3 separate regions of the Homo sapiens genome follow, and regions 1 and 2 are each linked to region 3. The links are contacts of gene promoters, found by promoter capture Hi-C in blood cells and fetal thymus (Javierre and others, 2016). All regions are on one chromosome and are shown on one strand. Each heading gives the region's core, a stretch centred on a gene start or on the middle of the fragment in contact. The rest is flanking DNA. Distances are from core to core; before and after follow the strand shown. Region 1 overlaps RIC8A (RIC8 guanine nucleotide exchange factor A). Region 2 holds the start of SIRT3 (sirtuin 3). Region 3 holds the start of RNH1 (ribonuclease/angiogenin inhibitor 1).

Region 1 (4,015 bases), core at 1,316-3,815, 300 kb after region 3:
AGATGGAGAAGTGGGGGCGGGTGTGGATCCAGTGGGATGTGGCTTCCCCAGGTTGCAACCCCAAGGAAGTCTCTGGAAGCAGCACCAGTCCTGATGGGGGAGCAGAAGAGCTGCCATCCTCAGTCAGGGTCCGAGTCAGGGTCCGAGGAGAGCTGCTGCTCCATAGTCTCGCACATGGCATCCTGCAGGGACGTAAGATGACCCCGGGGACTCATCCCCATTGGCTGGATGACTCTGTTCCTGTTGGGGAAAGGTGCAGTGGGGCTGGGGAAGGGGCCCAGTTGGCCAGGCAGGGGTCCTACTCACCCGTGGCTGCTACCTTCCTCTCTACCAAGTAGGCTGCTCCCATTTACTGGGGAAGCCTGGTTGGACCTTCTGTTAACTGGGCCCAAACCCTAACTGCTGCCTCCTGGCTTTAAGCAGTTTCCTATTTTAAACATCTAAATTGGCCTTAAGCAGGCTCTTAATTTGGACACTGGGCCATCTCCAATAAATCTGGCGACATTAGTCTCTTTTTTTTTTTTGAGACGAAGTCTCACTCTGTTGCCAGGCTGGAGTGCGGTGGCACAATGTCAGCTCACTGCAAGCTCTGCCTCCTGGGTTCAAGTGATTCCCCTGCCTCAACCTCCCGAGCAGCTGGGACTACAGGCGCCCACCACCACGCCCAGCTAACTTTTTTTTTGTATTTTAGCAGAGATGGGGTTTCACCATGTTGGCCAGGATGGTCTCGATCTCCTGACCTTGTGATCTACCTGCCTCAGTCTCCCAAAGTGCTGGGATTATAGGCGTGAGCTACCACGCCCGGCCTTAGACAGTCTCTTAATTTCTCTGGGCCTCAGTTATCATCTGTAAAAGGGGCACAATACTGATCTCAATATACCCATCCCCTGGGGGATTTCCTCCAGGGCAAGTGATTTCAAACGTGAGCAATGCAACCTAATACCAGGATCCTAAGCTCTCCTCTGATCCTACCTCCTGGGGCTCACAAGACAGGATGTGGGTCAGCTCTCCCTTCTCCCAGCTGCAGGCCCCTCCTCCTCATGCCACACACCTGGAGAGCTTGTCAAACATGGTCACCAGCTTCATGGCCTCGTGCTCCTTCTGCTCCTCTGTCATGCCCTCCATAGGGTTAGGCGGCTTCTCCTCCACCCTCCCGGTCACAGGGTTTATGCTGTTTCCCAGTGGGTGGAATGTGGGGAATGCATTAGTGACTCTCCAGGACAGGAGGCAAGCCACCTATTTTCCCAGTGGGGTGAGGTGGGCAAGGCAACTGCAGGAAGAGGCCTCCCTCCAGAAGCGGCACAGGTAACCAGCTCCTGCCATCTGCCACCTTCTGGTATCCCAGATAGCACTTAGGAACAGGTGCTTGATTCTGGAAGCTCTTGCCCATTTGTCATCCTGTCCCACCCTACAGGGGTCCACATGGGTGTGGAAGCAGGGACTATGGGGCTGTGAGTGGAGACCCGAGGGTGTGTTGGGGGTACACACCTGGCTTTGGCTTCCTTGTACTCATCTGTGTCTGTGTCCTCATCCTCTGAGTACTGGCCCTCGGGCCGGCCTCCTGCCATGAGGCCCCTGGCAGCCAGAAGGCCAGCAGCATTCCCATAGCCTGTGTACTTGATGAATCGGGGCACTGAGGGGCAAGGCAGAGGTCAGTGTGCAAGCCTGGCTGAGGTGGGGTGGGCTGGGACCTGGGTCTCCATAACTCACCACTCTCAGAGCACAGGACAAACAAGAACTCGGCAGCCACCCTCTTCACATCTGTGTCCAGGTGTGTCATGAGGCGGACAAGCTTGTTCCGCAGCATCTCCCCAACCTCAGGCCGTGTCCTCACATCCCGCAGAGGGGGCAGCACCTGGGGAGGTGGCCATCCCTAAGCTTGGGCTTAGAGCAGCCAAGGGTCTGTGATCAGGGCCGAAACCACATCCCCCAGGAGCACCAGCTCCTCAGCCTTATACCTGGGCCTTCAGGAACTTCCTGGCTGGGCGGTGCATCCGGGCACATTCAGTCAGCACGCTCAGCACGGGAGCTACACTCTCCTTCAGCCTGTGTGTCTGTAGAGGATTCTCTGTCACTGGGGCTATGCCCCTGCCTAACTTGTGACTGGCACAGAGTTACACCTCCCCACCACCCCTTCCCACCAACATACACAACAGCTGGTCCTGGCGGCAGAGGTTTGGGAAGAGGCCCCTCTGCAGTTAGTCAGCAGAAGGCCAAGAGTGGGTGGTGGGTGTCTGTGTCACTTTTGAAAAGGACAGGGATAGAGCGTAACTCAGAGGTACTCGTAAGCTTTGTGACTTGGGAGAAATAACTGCTTTAAGTCTAATTACTTCAACTATAAACCAGAGCTGGGAAGAAAACACAAAGCAATTAAAGCTTTAGACTCGCACACACATTGCCCTCAGATGTTGGTGGCAAAAAGAAACGAGAACCGAATCCCCGCTCTGTGTACTTCGTGGACAGAGCAGGGAGTTCTTGACCCTCCTAGCATAATGTGCCTGGACCCCAGCACCAGCAGTGGCAGCGACGGGCACAGACAACCCCCTAGCTGTGTGTCCAGTGCCAGCTCCCTATCCTGACTGGCTCGCAGGCACCTTGTGTGTCCCTTGCTTAGGCAGGTAGATTCCCAGGAGGTCTACTAAATCTCGGTTTATTGTACTCCAGCCTGCTTTCTGCAAGCTCCTGGAAGATGGTTAGAGCCCCAGCTGTCCAGATGCCCTGTAGTGCAGTCACAGCAATCAGAAGGAAGCTTTGATCTGAGGTTCCTATGGGTCTCCTCAGGATGCTGAGGGACAACTATGCTTGTAATCAAGGGCTGCCTGTGTTTAAGACTTAAAAGTAGGGACTGGGGGGCTTCTCTGGACCACTCAGTAAAGATCCCCAAAGATTTAAGAAGTGAAACCTTCAAGTGTGTGGAAGGTGTCCACATGCTTCTCATGGAGGAAGGGTCTGGCTTCTTGCCAGGCTGGACCACAGAACAACCGGAAGAGTCGCCCATATCACACCACCAAGACAATCTCCACGTACCAGTGTGGACAGTGTGGAAGCACTGACCACATCTGTGCAGGAGAACCAGTGCCAGAGCCACTGGGGGAGCCTGCACAGCCATCCCCAGCCTACCTTGTGCAAACGCTTCTCTAGGAAGATGAGGAGGGCACGAATCACATCCATATTCACTCCCATGAACTCCGTGGAGTCTCCATGTGGCTCCAGGGTGAGGAGAACATCCAGACACTTGAGGGGCAAGTTCCCCAGGAGGTTCACTGCGTGGCTGGGGACAGATGGAGGTAGGGGTTTCAACAGGGCTAATCCCTGAGCACAGGTGCAATCTTTGTGACTCCGCTGAACCACACATTACATGAGCTGGCATCTGAGTCCCAAAGGGGCAGCGCTAGGGACCAAAGCCAAGGGCAGGGACTGATCTGAGAGGCACTGCCACTCAGCTGTACAGTGGGGTCCCCTGGGGAAGTGGGGGCACTGAGACACACTGCCTCCCCGACCCTGTCTGAGCCAAAGCGCCAGACCATCTCTGGAAACCCAGACCAGCCTAGGGGCAGGTAGACCAAAAACGGGGACAAGGAACCAATGTGCCCTAGTAAGTACCATACTGTTGCCACTACCCAAGGCCCAGTTGGCACATTCCTGCCCCCAAATTCATGGCTATGTCCAGTCTCACTCACCCAGACAACGTCAGACTCTCTAGGGTGGGGCCTGGGCTCTCAGGTGGTTCTGGTTCAGAGCCGGGGTTGAGGACGACCATCTAGACATGTGGGCACACTTCCCTCCCAGAAAAAGCCCCATTCTCACCCGTGGAACTCCTCTGTGCGGTCTCCAGCAGTAGCGATCATCACACAGTGCCGGAGAAGGGTCCCCAGGTGTCGGTAAAGGGCAGCGTCTTCCTGACCAAAGAAAGAAGGGTTCCTGTGAGGAGCCCCACTCATCCCACTGCTGCCTGCTGAGGCTCCACTGTCTGTTGCACTCCAGGACTGTGTGGCAATGACTGTGCACCTCCTGT
Region 2 (4,275 bases), core at 1,614-4,113, 270 kb after region 3:
CCAGTACCTGACGTAAAGTGACTGCTGAATATTGGAGCTTATTATTATTATTAGCATAAAGCCTATCTTATTTTCAAAAGTCCTTGAGCACATTCATATAATCTAATCTGGTATAGCAAATTATTTACCTTAATGAGACCATCTCCTTGGGCAAAGCACGGATCCTGCACAAAATCAAGCACCTGAAGTGTCAGCTGATGCCACAACCTGAAAAACATACAGCCCTTAAGACCTCTAACCTAATATCCAGTCACAGACACCTCCAGCCTTGATGATTCTATCAAGTCACAAATACAGGTTGGGTATCTCTAATCCAAAACTCCAAAACTCCAAAATTCAAAATGCTCCAAAATCCAAAACTTTTTGAGCACCAACATAGGGCTCAAAGGAAATGACCACTGGAGCATCTCAGATTTCAGATTTTTGATTTATGGATACTGAACGGGTAAGTATATATCGCAAATATTTCAAAATTTGAAAAAATACTAAATCCAAAAAAACTTTTGCCCCAATGCATTTCTTTCTTTCTTTTTTGAGACAGAGTCTGACTCTGTTGCCCAGGCTGTAGTGCAGTGGCGCCATCTCGGCTCACTGCAACCTCTGCCTCCCAGGATCAAGTGATTCTCCTGCCTCAGCCTCCCGAGTAGCAGGGATTACAGGCATGAGCCACTGCGCCCGGCCGCCCCAATGCATTTCTGATAAGGGATACTAAATCCATACTAACCAGTCTCTACGGTGTAGCAGAAAGAATGCTAAAGCAGATGTGATAAACCTGAGTTCTTTTCCTGGCTCTGCTATTGAATGGCTATGTCACTTTGAGATCACTTAACTTCTCTAAGACTCAGTTTTCCCAGGTATGAAATGGAGAACATTAATCTAGATTAACTCAAAGGGTTATTGTGAGGTTTCACTGGAAACGAGAACTTTGGAATCATACATATCTAACTTGAGATGCTGGCTCTTCTACCTATTAGCTGAGTATCTCAGGGAAGGCAATTAAAATGAGCTTCAGTTTCCTCCTCTGTGAAAAGGATGAATAAAGGATTAAATAAGCTAATATTTAAAACCTCAGGGACAGTGACATAGCGCTTCATCCAAAACCCAAAGGCTAATATTTAATAACGCAGATAAAATGCTTTGAAAATTACCAAGTGCTATCCAACACAAACCATTATTTGCCAAACATTAATTTGCTCTCAAAAACTGCTAATAGCAGAAGGCTGCTGAATGCTAAACATCATCAAAACATGTATGGAACATCTATGTGAAAGGTATTATATTAAATGCTAGGGTTAACAGGGAGGTTACTACAGGAGATGTATTTTCTATGGAATAGCTCCAGCCCAATGCCAGCAATTTATTCTACTCATATTAAAAGGAGGTTAGTGCTTAGCAAGAATTTAATTGCTCTGCAATTCATCCTGTTTCTAAACAAACCTAAACTTTAAGATCTTTCTAGGGGCAGAAAGCCCATGAGAAATACAATGGAAGGTAAAGACAATGGGACGGCGGAAGTGGTTGCACCCCGTGCAACCAGCTGCAGAATGAATAGGGAAAACAGCAAAGCTGTACTAGCCTCTGGTTTATCAACTCCAGACCATGAGAAAGATAACTGTAGATACAGTTACACTATGACAAGGCTAAGCACGAATCACCAACATGTTTCCCAAAGTGGGTGGTGGCCCTGAAAGTGTGTTTGCTTGTTAGATGGAATCAAGAGCTAAAATCAAAGGCTACTCCTGAACCGTTTTAGTAAGACCCGAGGTAGGAGTTCAGAAGCCTCAGTCTCAGTCCCCCGTTAAGGAAGCAGTGAATCTCAGACCGAAACATCCTGGCTACAGCTCTTGGCCCTCGTGGTCTGTCATCCCTCTTATTCCTCGACCCTGCCACTCAAGGTTCCTCAGCAAACCTTGCCGGCACAGCCGGTCGCTACACGTCCCCGTTTCCCCCCAACTTGGGTCTGGGCGCCCTCAGCCCATCAAGGGTCCGCTCCTCCGCCCGCCTGCCCCCTCCGTCTCCCTCTATCGCCGGGGCCCAGGGCCCGTCTGCTCGGCGCTCACTTCTTCGTGTAGAGCTCCTCCAGACGGTGCCACACAGCGGGCTGCCCGGGCCCGGAGTTCTGGCTCTGCTGTAGGAAGCCCGGTACGTCCTTCATGACAGCAGGAAGACCCCCGGCACAGAAGAACAACCGGGATGTCAGCACCGCGGGGATGGCTGCCGGAAATGCTCACTCACTTCCGGCGCCGAGCGGCGCGGGGCAGGCTGGGAGCGCCGTAGCAGGCCGGGGGCGGGCCCCGCTGGTTGCTCGGTTACAGCGCGTCTCTGCGCTCCGGACAAAACTCTCCGGCGTTTGCAGCCCACTTCCCGCGCACTTGGCTGTGCCATTGAGGCGTCAAAGAGTGTGGGCGCCTGTGGTCGAACCCGCTACGGACTAGCTTTGTGGTGTCAGCCTTTGTGACCCGGAATTGCTCCTGTCAAATGAGGATCTTCCCAGTAGTGTTTTGCGAGGATTAGGTGTAAATATAATGCCTGACCATAGTAAAAGCGCTCAGAAAGTATTAACTATCACCGCCATCCGGGTTGAAAAAGGTGTGAGCGCAGGGTACAGAAATGCTGGCTCCAGGTTTGACCTCCGGGGCGAGAGATGAGACACCAGACTAGGGAACTTCCTCTACTCGCCTCTACGTCTACCTGGGCGCGCCGGAGGCGTCGGCAAGGAGGCGGGGGCGGGGCGCGGAGGCGGGACCGGGGCGCCGGGGGCGGGGGCGGTAGGCGGAGGCGGGGCTGGGGCGCCGGGGGCGGGGGTGGGAGGCGGAGGCGGGGCCGGGGCGCCGGGGGCGGGGCGAGTCCGGAGGACTCCTTGGACTGCGCGGAACATGGCGTTCTGGGGTTGGCGCGCCGCGGCAGCCCTCCGGCTGTGGGGCCGGGTAGTTGAACGGGTCGAGGCCGGGGGAGGCGTGGGGCCGTTTCAGGCCTGCGGCTGTCGGCTGGTGCTTGGCGGCAGGGACGATGTGAGTGCGGGGCTGAGAGGCAGCCATGGGGCCCGCGGTGAGCCCTTGGACCCGGCGCGCCCCTTGCAGAGGCCTCCCAGACCCGAGGTGCCCAGGGCATTCCGGAGGCAGCCGAGGGCAGCAGCTCCCAGTTTCTTCTTTTCGAGGTATTTTGGGCAAGGACAAGCACTTCTTGCGTGTTCGTTGTCGACACCTCGCCCACTCTTTCTCACCTTGCCGTGTTTCCTTTGCGGCATGTCTGGGAGTTTACGTGCGTTCCAACACCGGGGCCTCCGTCTTTATGCTGATCTGTGGACGTCACTTATGGGGGTTTTGTCGTTTATTTCACCATTCCCTCATTGAAATACGTTCTAACCTTTAGTTATTGTGCATCATGCTGTGGTGAATAACCTTGTTGGCACCTCACTGTTTGCATAAATTCCTAGTACTGGGATTGCTAGGTCCAAAAGTATATGCATTTAACGCTTTAATGATCCCTCATAAATGTTGTGCGGTTAATACTCCCACTGGCATGTGATCGTACCCGTCTCCATAGTAATTGCATCTAAGAACTGAGGCTACATAGGAAAAAATCTTAAGGTCCATGGTTGTTAGGTATCAGATGCCCTATAATGGATGAATATTTAAGTAAATAATGGCACATTGACTTGCTGTCTGACACAACTGCTGAAAATGTTGGTGAAAAGTGAGTCTCGAAGTGGTAGCTCACACTTGTAATACCAGCACTTTCGGAGGCTGAGACGGGGATCGCTCGAGGCCAGGAGTTCAAGAGCAGCCTGGGCAACATAACGAGACCCCCATCTCTACCAAAAATTTAAAAATTAGCCGGGCATGGTGGCGCAAGCCTGTTGTCCCAGTTACTCCTGAGACTAAGGCAAGAGGATCCCTTGAGTCCAGGAGTTCAAGGCTGCAGTGAGCTATGATTGAGCCACTGCACTCCAGCCTGGGTGACAGAGCAAGACTCTTATCTACCTGTGGGAAAAAAAAAAGAAAAAAGTTTAATAGATCCTGAAGAGTTGGCCGGGCGCGGTAGCTCACGCCTGTAATCCCAGCACTTTGGGAGGATGAGACGGGTGGATAACGAGGTCAGGAGTTCGAGACCAGCTGGGCCAACATGGTGAAACCCCATTTCTACTGAAATTACAAAAATTAGCCGGGCGTGGTGGCGGGCGCCTGTAATCCTAGCTACTCAGGAGGCGGAGGCAGGAGAATCACTTGAACCCGGAAGGCAGAGGTTGCAGTGAGCCGAGATGGCACCATTGCA
Region 3 (4,162 bases), core at 1,120-3,619:
GCGCCACTGCACTCCAGCCTGGGCGACAGAGCGAGACTCCATCTCAATAAAATAAAATAAAAATGAAGACATACCTTTCAGGGGCTGTGGCCGCACTGTCCAGGAGGGAGGCCCGGCCACAGACACCATGCTGGCCGTGCGCTCAGCACCTATACATACCTGGGCACCTTCCCCACAAGGTGTCACAAAAGGGAGCCCAACAGCCATTTTAAACATTTTCTTCACTCTTATGAGAATTGCCACGAACAAATCTAAGAGATCATGGCAAAGAAAAGAATGAAATGAAACCAGAACATTTCAGCAGCTTTTGCAAAGATGTCAAGAGAACCAGTCCAGGAGTCAGACTGGCGGCATCCTTCCAGCTTCTTGTCATGAATTCTAAACCTCACATCCAGACTCCAAAGCTTAGAGAGTTAAAGAATCAGCTACTGGTCACCAAGCTCACGTGTGCAGGATGAGGGTCACAGCCAGGTTGGCTGCCTTCCAGCCCTGAGCTTTCTTGGGGGTGTGTGTGTGTGTGTGTGAACCACCTTCTTTTTGAGACGGAGTTTCTTTTTTCTTTTTTGAGATGGAGTTTCGCTCTTGTTGCCCAGGCTGGAGTACAGTGGCACGATCTTGGCTCACTGCAACCTCTGCCTCCTGGGTTCAAGTGGTTCTCCTGCCTCAGCCTCCTGAGTAGCTGGGATTACAGGCATGCACCACCATGCCTGGCTAAGTTTTTGTAATTTTAGTAGAGATGGGGTTTCATCATCTTGGCCAGGCTGGTCTTGAACTCCTGACCTCAGGTGATCTGCCTGCCTTGGCCTCCCAAAGTGTTGGAATTACAGGTGTGAGCCACCGCGCCCAGCCAGAGTTTCATCTTGTTGCCCGAACTGGAGTGCAATGGTGTGGTCTAGGCTCGCTGCAACCTCTGCTTCCCGTGTTCAAGCGATTCTCCTGCCTCAGCCTCCCAAGTAGCTGGAATTACAGGTGCCCACCACCATGCCTGGCTAATTTTTGTATTTTTAGTAGAGATGGGGTTTCACCACGTTGGCCAGGCTGGTCTTGAACTCCTGACCTCAGGTGATCCACCCTTCTCGGTCTCCCAAAGTGTTGGGGTTACAGGTGTGAGCCACCACGCCCGGCCAGAACCACCTTCTTTAAAGATGATCAGGCCGGGTGTAGTGGCTTATGCCAGTAATTCCAGCGATATGGGAGGCTGAAGCAGGAGGATCACTTGAGCCCAATTCAAGACCAGGCTGGGCAACACAGGGAGACCTCTTCTCTACATAAAATACAACAATTAGCCAGGCGTGCTGGCGCCTGTGGTACCAGCTACTTGGGAGGCTGAGGCGGGAGGATCACTGGAGTCCGGGAGGTGGAGGCTGCAGCGAGCTGGGATCGCGCCACTGCAGTACAGCCTAAGCAGTGGAGTGAGACCCTGTCTCGAAAACAAATACCTAATAAAGGCAGTCAGAGGAGAGGTTTAGCAAATTGCTAAAGAACAAATCTGAGATACCGTTAGTTTCCTTACTTGCAATCTTCATCTGCCAAAATGTCAATTCTGTGAATTGCGGACTAGTCAAAAACTTAAAGAAAACCCACTTTTGTGGAGGTGGGGTCGCTTTGCGTTTCCCAGGCTGGTCTGGAACTCGGCCTGCGCCCCTCAGTGCCAGGGCTCCAGGCGACGCTCGGGTGTCGGCAGCAGAGTGGACGCAGGAGCAGCTCGGACCGCGCTCAGAACACTCGGGACGAGGCCGCGGCTCCGCAGGCCTTGCGGGCTGGGGTCCCACGAAACAAAGGCGGCAGCCAGTGGCCAGGACGGGCAGCGTGGTTCACGGGGCCGTGGCTCCCTCGGGGGTCGCGAGCTCGGCGCAAACGAGCCCCTCTACCAAGGTCGCCTAGAGTCGCGACCCCGACATGCGGAGCCGCCCCAGGGGGGTTTCTCCCGGGTCCCTCCTGTCCCGAGGCGGCCGCTTTCTCCGGGGGCCGCGCCCCGCGCCCCAGCAAGGCCCGACCCGCGCCTGCGATTCCGCCCCCAAGGCGCTGCCGCACCGGGCCCCGGCCTCTTCCTCCGAGGATTCTCAGGAATTGCTGAGACTTGCGTGCCAGTGCGAGGCCCACAACACGCACACGCGCCCGCGCCCGCCAGACCCCGCCCCCGGCACCAAGCCCCGCCTACTGGGGGAGACCACGCCCCCAAGCGAGACCTCCCTCACCGAGCCACGCCCCACCAGGCCCCGCCGCTGCGCCAAGACTGTGCTTAGCCGAGCCCCGCCCGCCGGGCCCCGCCCCGACCCCGAGACTACTCCCGCCAGGCCCCGCCCCCGCGCCGAGCCCCGCCCAGTAGTCCCCGCCCACGCACCTGACCACGCCCACGAGCCGGCTCGAACACGCCCGCGCCGCTGACTGGCGGGTGGGGTTGTCGACACGTTCAACCCGTTCTGCTGGCTCGAGAACGAAGTAGGCCGTCTCGCTCTGGGTCTCCAGGCCCGCGACCGTCCGCCAGTCGTCCCGAGGTCAGTAGCTCCAGCGGTGCGTCAGCGTCTAGCCAGGCCTCGCCCACGCCGGCCTTGGTCGGGCTTCTTGTAGACGCGGGCCTGGCGCTATTGAGGCCGTTGCTGCGCGGGCGAGTGGCGCGCTCCCGTGGCGGGGCGGGGTCGGGCGGGGCAGGGGTCCGGGGCTATCGAGGCGGGGCCGAGGTTGCGCTGGGCAGCTGCGCCGCCGGGCGGACGTGGCGCGCCTTGAGGACGTCATCGCGGTGCACGCTCCCCTTTGGGGCTTGCCGGAAGTCCTTGCCCGGGGCGCGGGGCTGCGCCTGCGTGGTTCGTCCTCACGTGGCCGTCAAGCCCTCTAGTGCCTTAGATTCCAGCGAGCTACGCAAGCAATCCTGGCCCAGCCGAGCTTGCTTCCCCAAATCCCGTAATCCTTGACCTTATTCCCCCAAAGAAGCGGCCTCCCGGGAAGGAGCGCCCTGGCGGAGAAGACTCGAACGGCTCCCACAGCCGGGCGTTGGGGGAAAGGTGGGCGGTCTTGGTCGTGCGAGGTCGGGGAGGGAGGGTCCTCCGCTCTCCATTGCGGAGCTTCGCTCCGGGACCACCGGGGGACCGGACGCCGGGCCGCGAAGCTGCCGCCTGGGGCTGCGGGGAGGAGAGCAACATAACTGGAATGGCACTTAGGGGCCGGTGTCAGGGTTGTCACCGGGGTTGGCGGAAATGACGAAGGGGCCCCAGGCACGTCGTGTTACTGGGCGAGGTTCCAGCCAAGGTGCCCACGCGCCTTGGGGGAAACCAGAGGACTTCTGCACCGTTTCCCGAGGACAGTTTGGCAGTGTTTCAGAAGGGCCTTAGAACCAGGCAGGCCCCCTTCTAGGATGGTGGAAAGCCTAAAGATCTGAAAACGGTCTCAAGTGTCGTCTTAGCGATTGGCTGACTAAACCGAATGCAAGCCGGAGACTGCACACGATGTTGCCGTTAACAGTTACACTGGGCCGGGCAGTCAGAGGCAGGCGGATCACCTGAGGTCAGGAGTTCGAGAACAGCCTGGCCAACATGGTGAAAACCCGTCTCTACTAAAAATACAAAATTAGCCGGGCGTGGTGGCAGGCGCCTATAATCCCAGCTACTTGGGAGGTTGAGGTAGGAGAATGGCTTGAACTCAGGAGGCGGAGGTTGCGGTGAGCCGAGATCGTGCCACTGCACTCCAGCCGGCTGACAAGAGCGAAACTCCTTCTCAAAAAAAAAAAAAAAAAAAAAAAGTTACATTAGGCTGGGTGCGCTGCAGCCTGTAATCCCAGCACTTTGGGAGGCCGAGGCGGGCGGATCTCTTGAGCCCAGGAGTTTGCGACCAACATACTGAGTTTGGCCAAAATAGTGAGACCCCCGTCTCTACAAAAGATAGAAAAAATTAGCCAGTTGCGGTAGTGAACGCTTGTAGTCCCAGCTACTTGGGACGCTGAGGGAGGAGGAGCACTTGAGCCCTGGAAGAGGAGGCTGCAGTGAGCTATTTTCTCATCCCTGCTATAACGAATTTGTCACAGGCTGTTTTATAGGCCTGGAGCTCAGAAGCCCGAAGTGAGTTTTAGGAGGTTAAAATCAAGGTGTTGGCAAGGGTAGTTCCTTCTGGAGTTTCCCAAGGAGAATCTGCTTCTTTTCCTCTTCCAACTTCTAGAGGCCACCTTCTT

The links. The method cuts DNA at HindIII sites, captures the fragments that hold promoters and counts their contacts. A CHiCAGO score of 5 or more calls a contact.
Region 1: a contact is called between a fragment that was not itself captured here and the fragment with the promoter of RNH1 in region 3, in 1 of 17 cell types (fetal thymus). The highest score is 6.8, in fetal thymus.
Region 2: a contact is called between the fragment with the promoter of SIRT3 here and the fragment with the promoter of RNH1 in region 3, in 6 of 17 cell types (fetal thymus, non-activated CD4 T cells, naive CD4 T cells and 3 more). The highest score is 8.9, in fetal thymus.

Annotation. Positions count from the first base shown.
Region 1 is chr11:210,455-214,469 of GRCh38, reverse strand. RIC8A (RIC8 guanine nucleotide exchange factor A) reads right to left here. Exons shown (of 10, transcript NM_001286134.2): 4 at 3,808-3,899; 5 at 3,121-3,271; 6 at 1,959-2,054; 7 at 1,711-1,855; 8 at 1,489-1,633; 9 at 1,052-1,171; 10 at 1-240. The coding sequence ends at 120. Among named protein-coding and RNA genes, the nearest start is that of MIR6743, 3.1 kb to the right of the region's middle. The HindIII fragment of the contact is 373 bases long and covers 2,379-2,751 here.
Region 2 is chr11:234,930-239,204 of GRCh38, reverse strand. SIRT3 (sirtuin 3) reads left to right here and starts at 2,863. Exons shown (of 7, transcript NM_012239.6): 1 at 2,863-3,157. The coding sequence starts at 2,877. It overlaps PSMD13 (proteasome 26S subunit, non-ATPase 13), which reads right to left and starts at 2,229. Exons shown (of 13, transcript NM_002817.4): 1 at 2,061-2,229; 2 at 129-207. The coding sequence starts at 2,155. RefSeq lists enhancers at 1,978-2,217, 2,378-2,567 and a silencer at 2,718-2,797. The HindIII fragment of the contact is 9,250 bases long and covers 1-4,275 here.
Region 3 is chr11:505,449-509,610 of GRCh38, reverse strand. It overlaps RNH1 (ribonuclease/angiogenin inhibitor 1), which reads left to right and starts at 2,369. Exons shown (of 11, transcript NM_203387.3): 1 at 2,369-2,498. It also overlaps a transcript of LRRC56 not described here. RefSeq lists a cis regulatory region at 3,015 and an enhancer at 2,931-3,100. The HindIII fragment of the contact is 5,455 bases long and covers 407-4,162 here.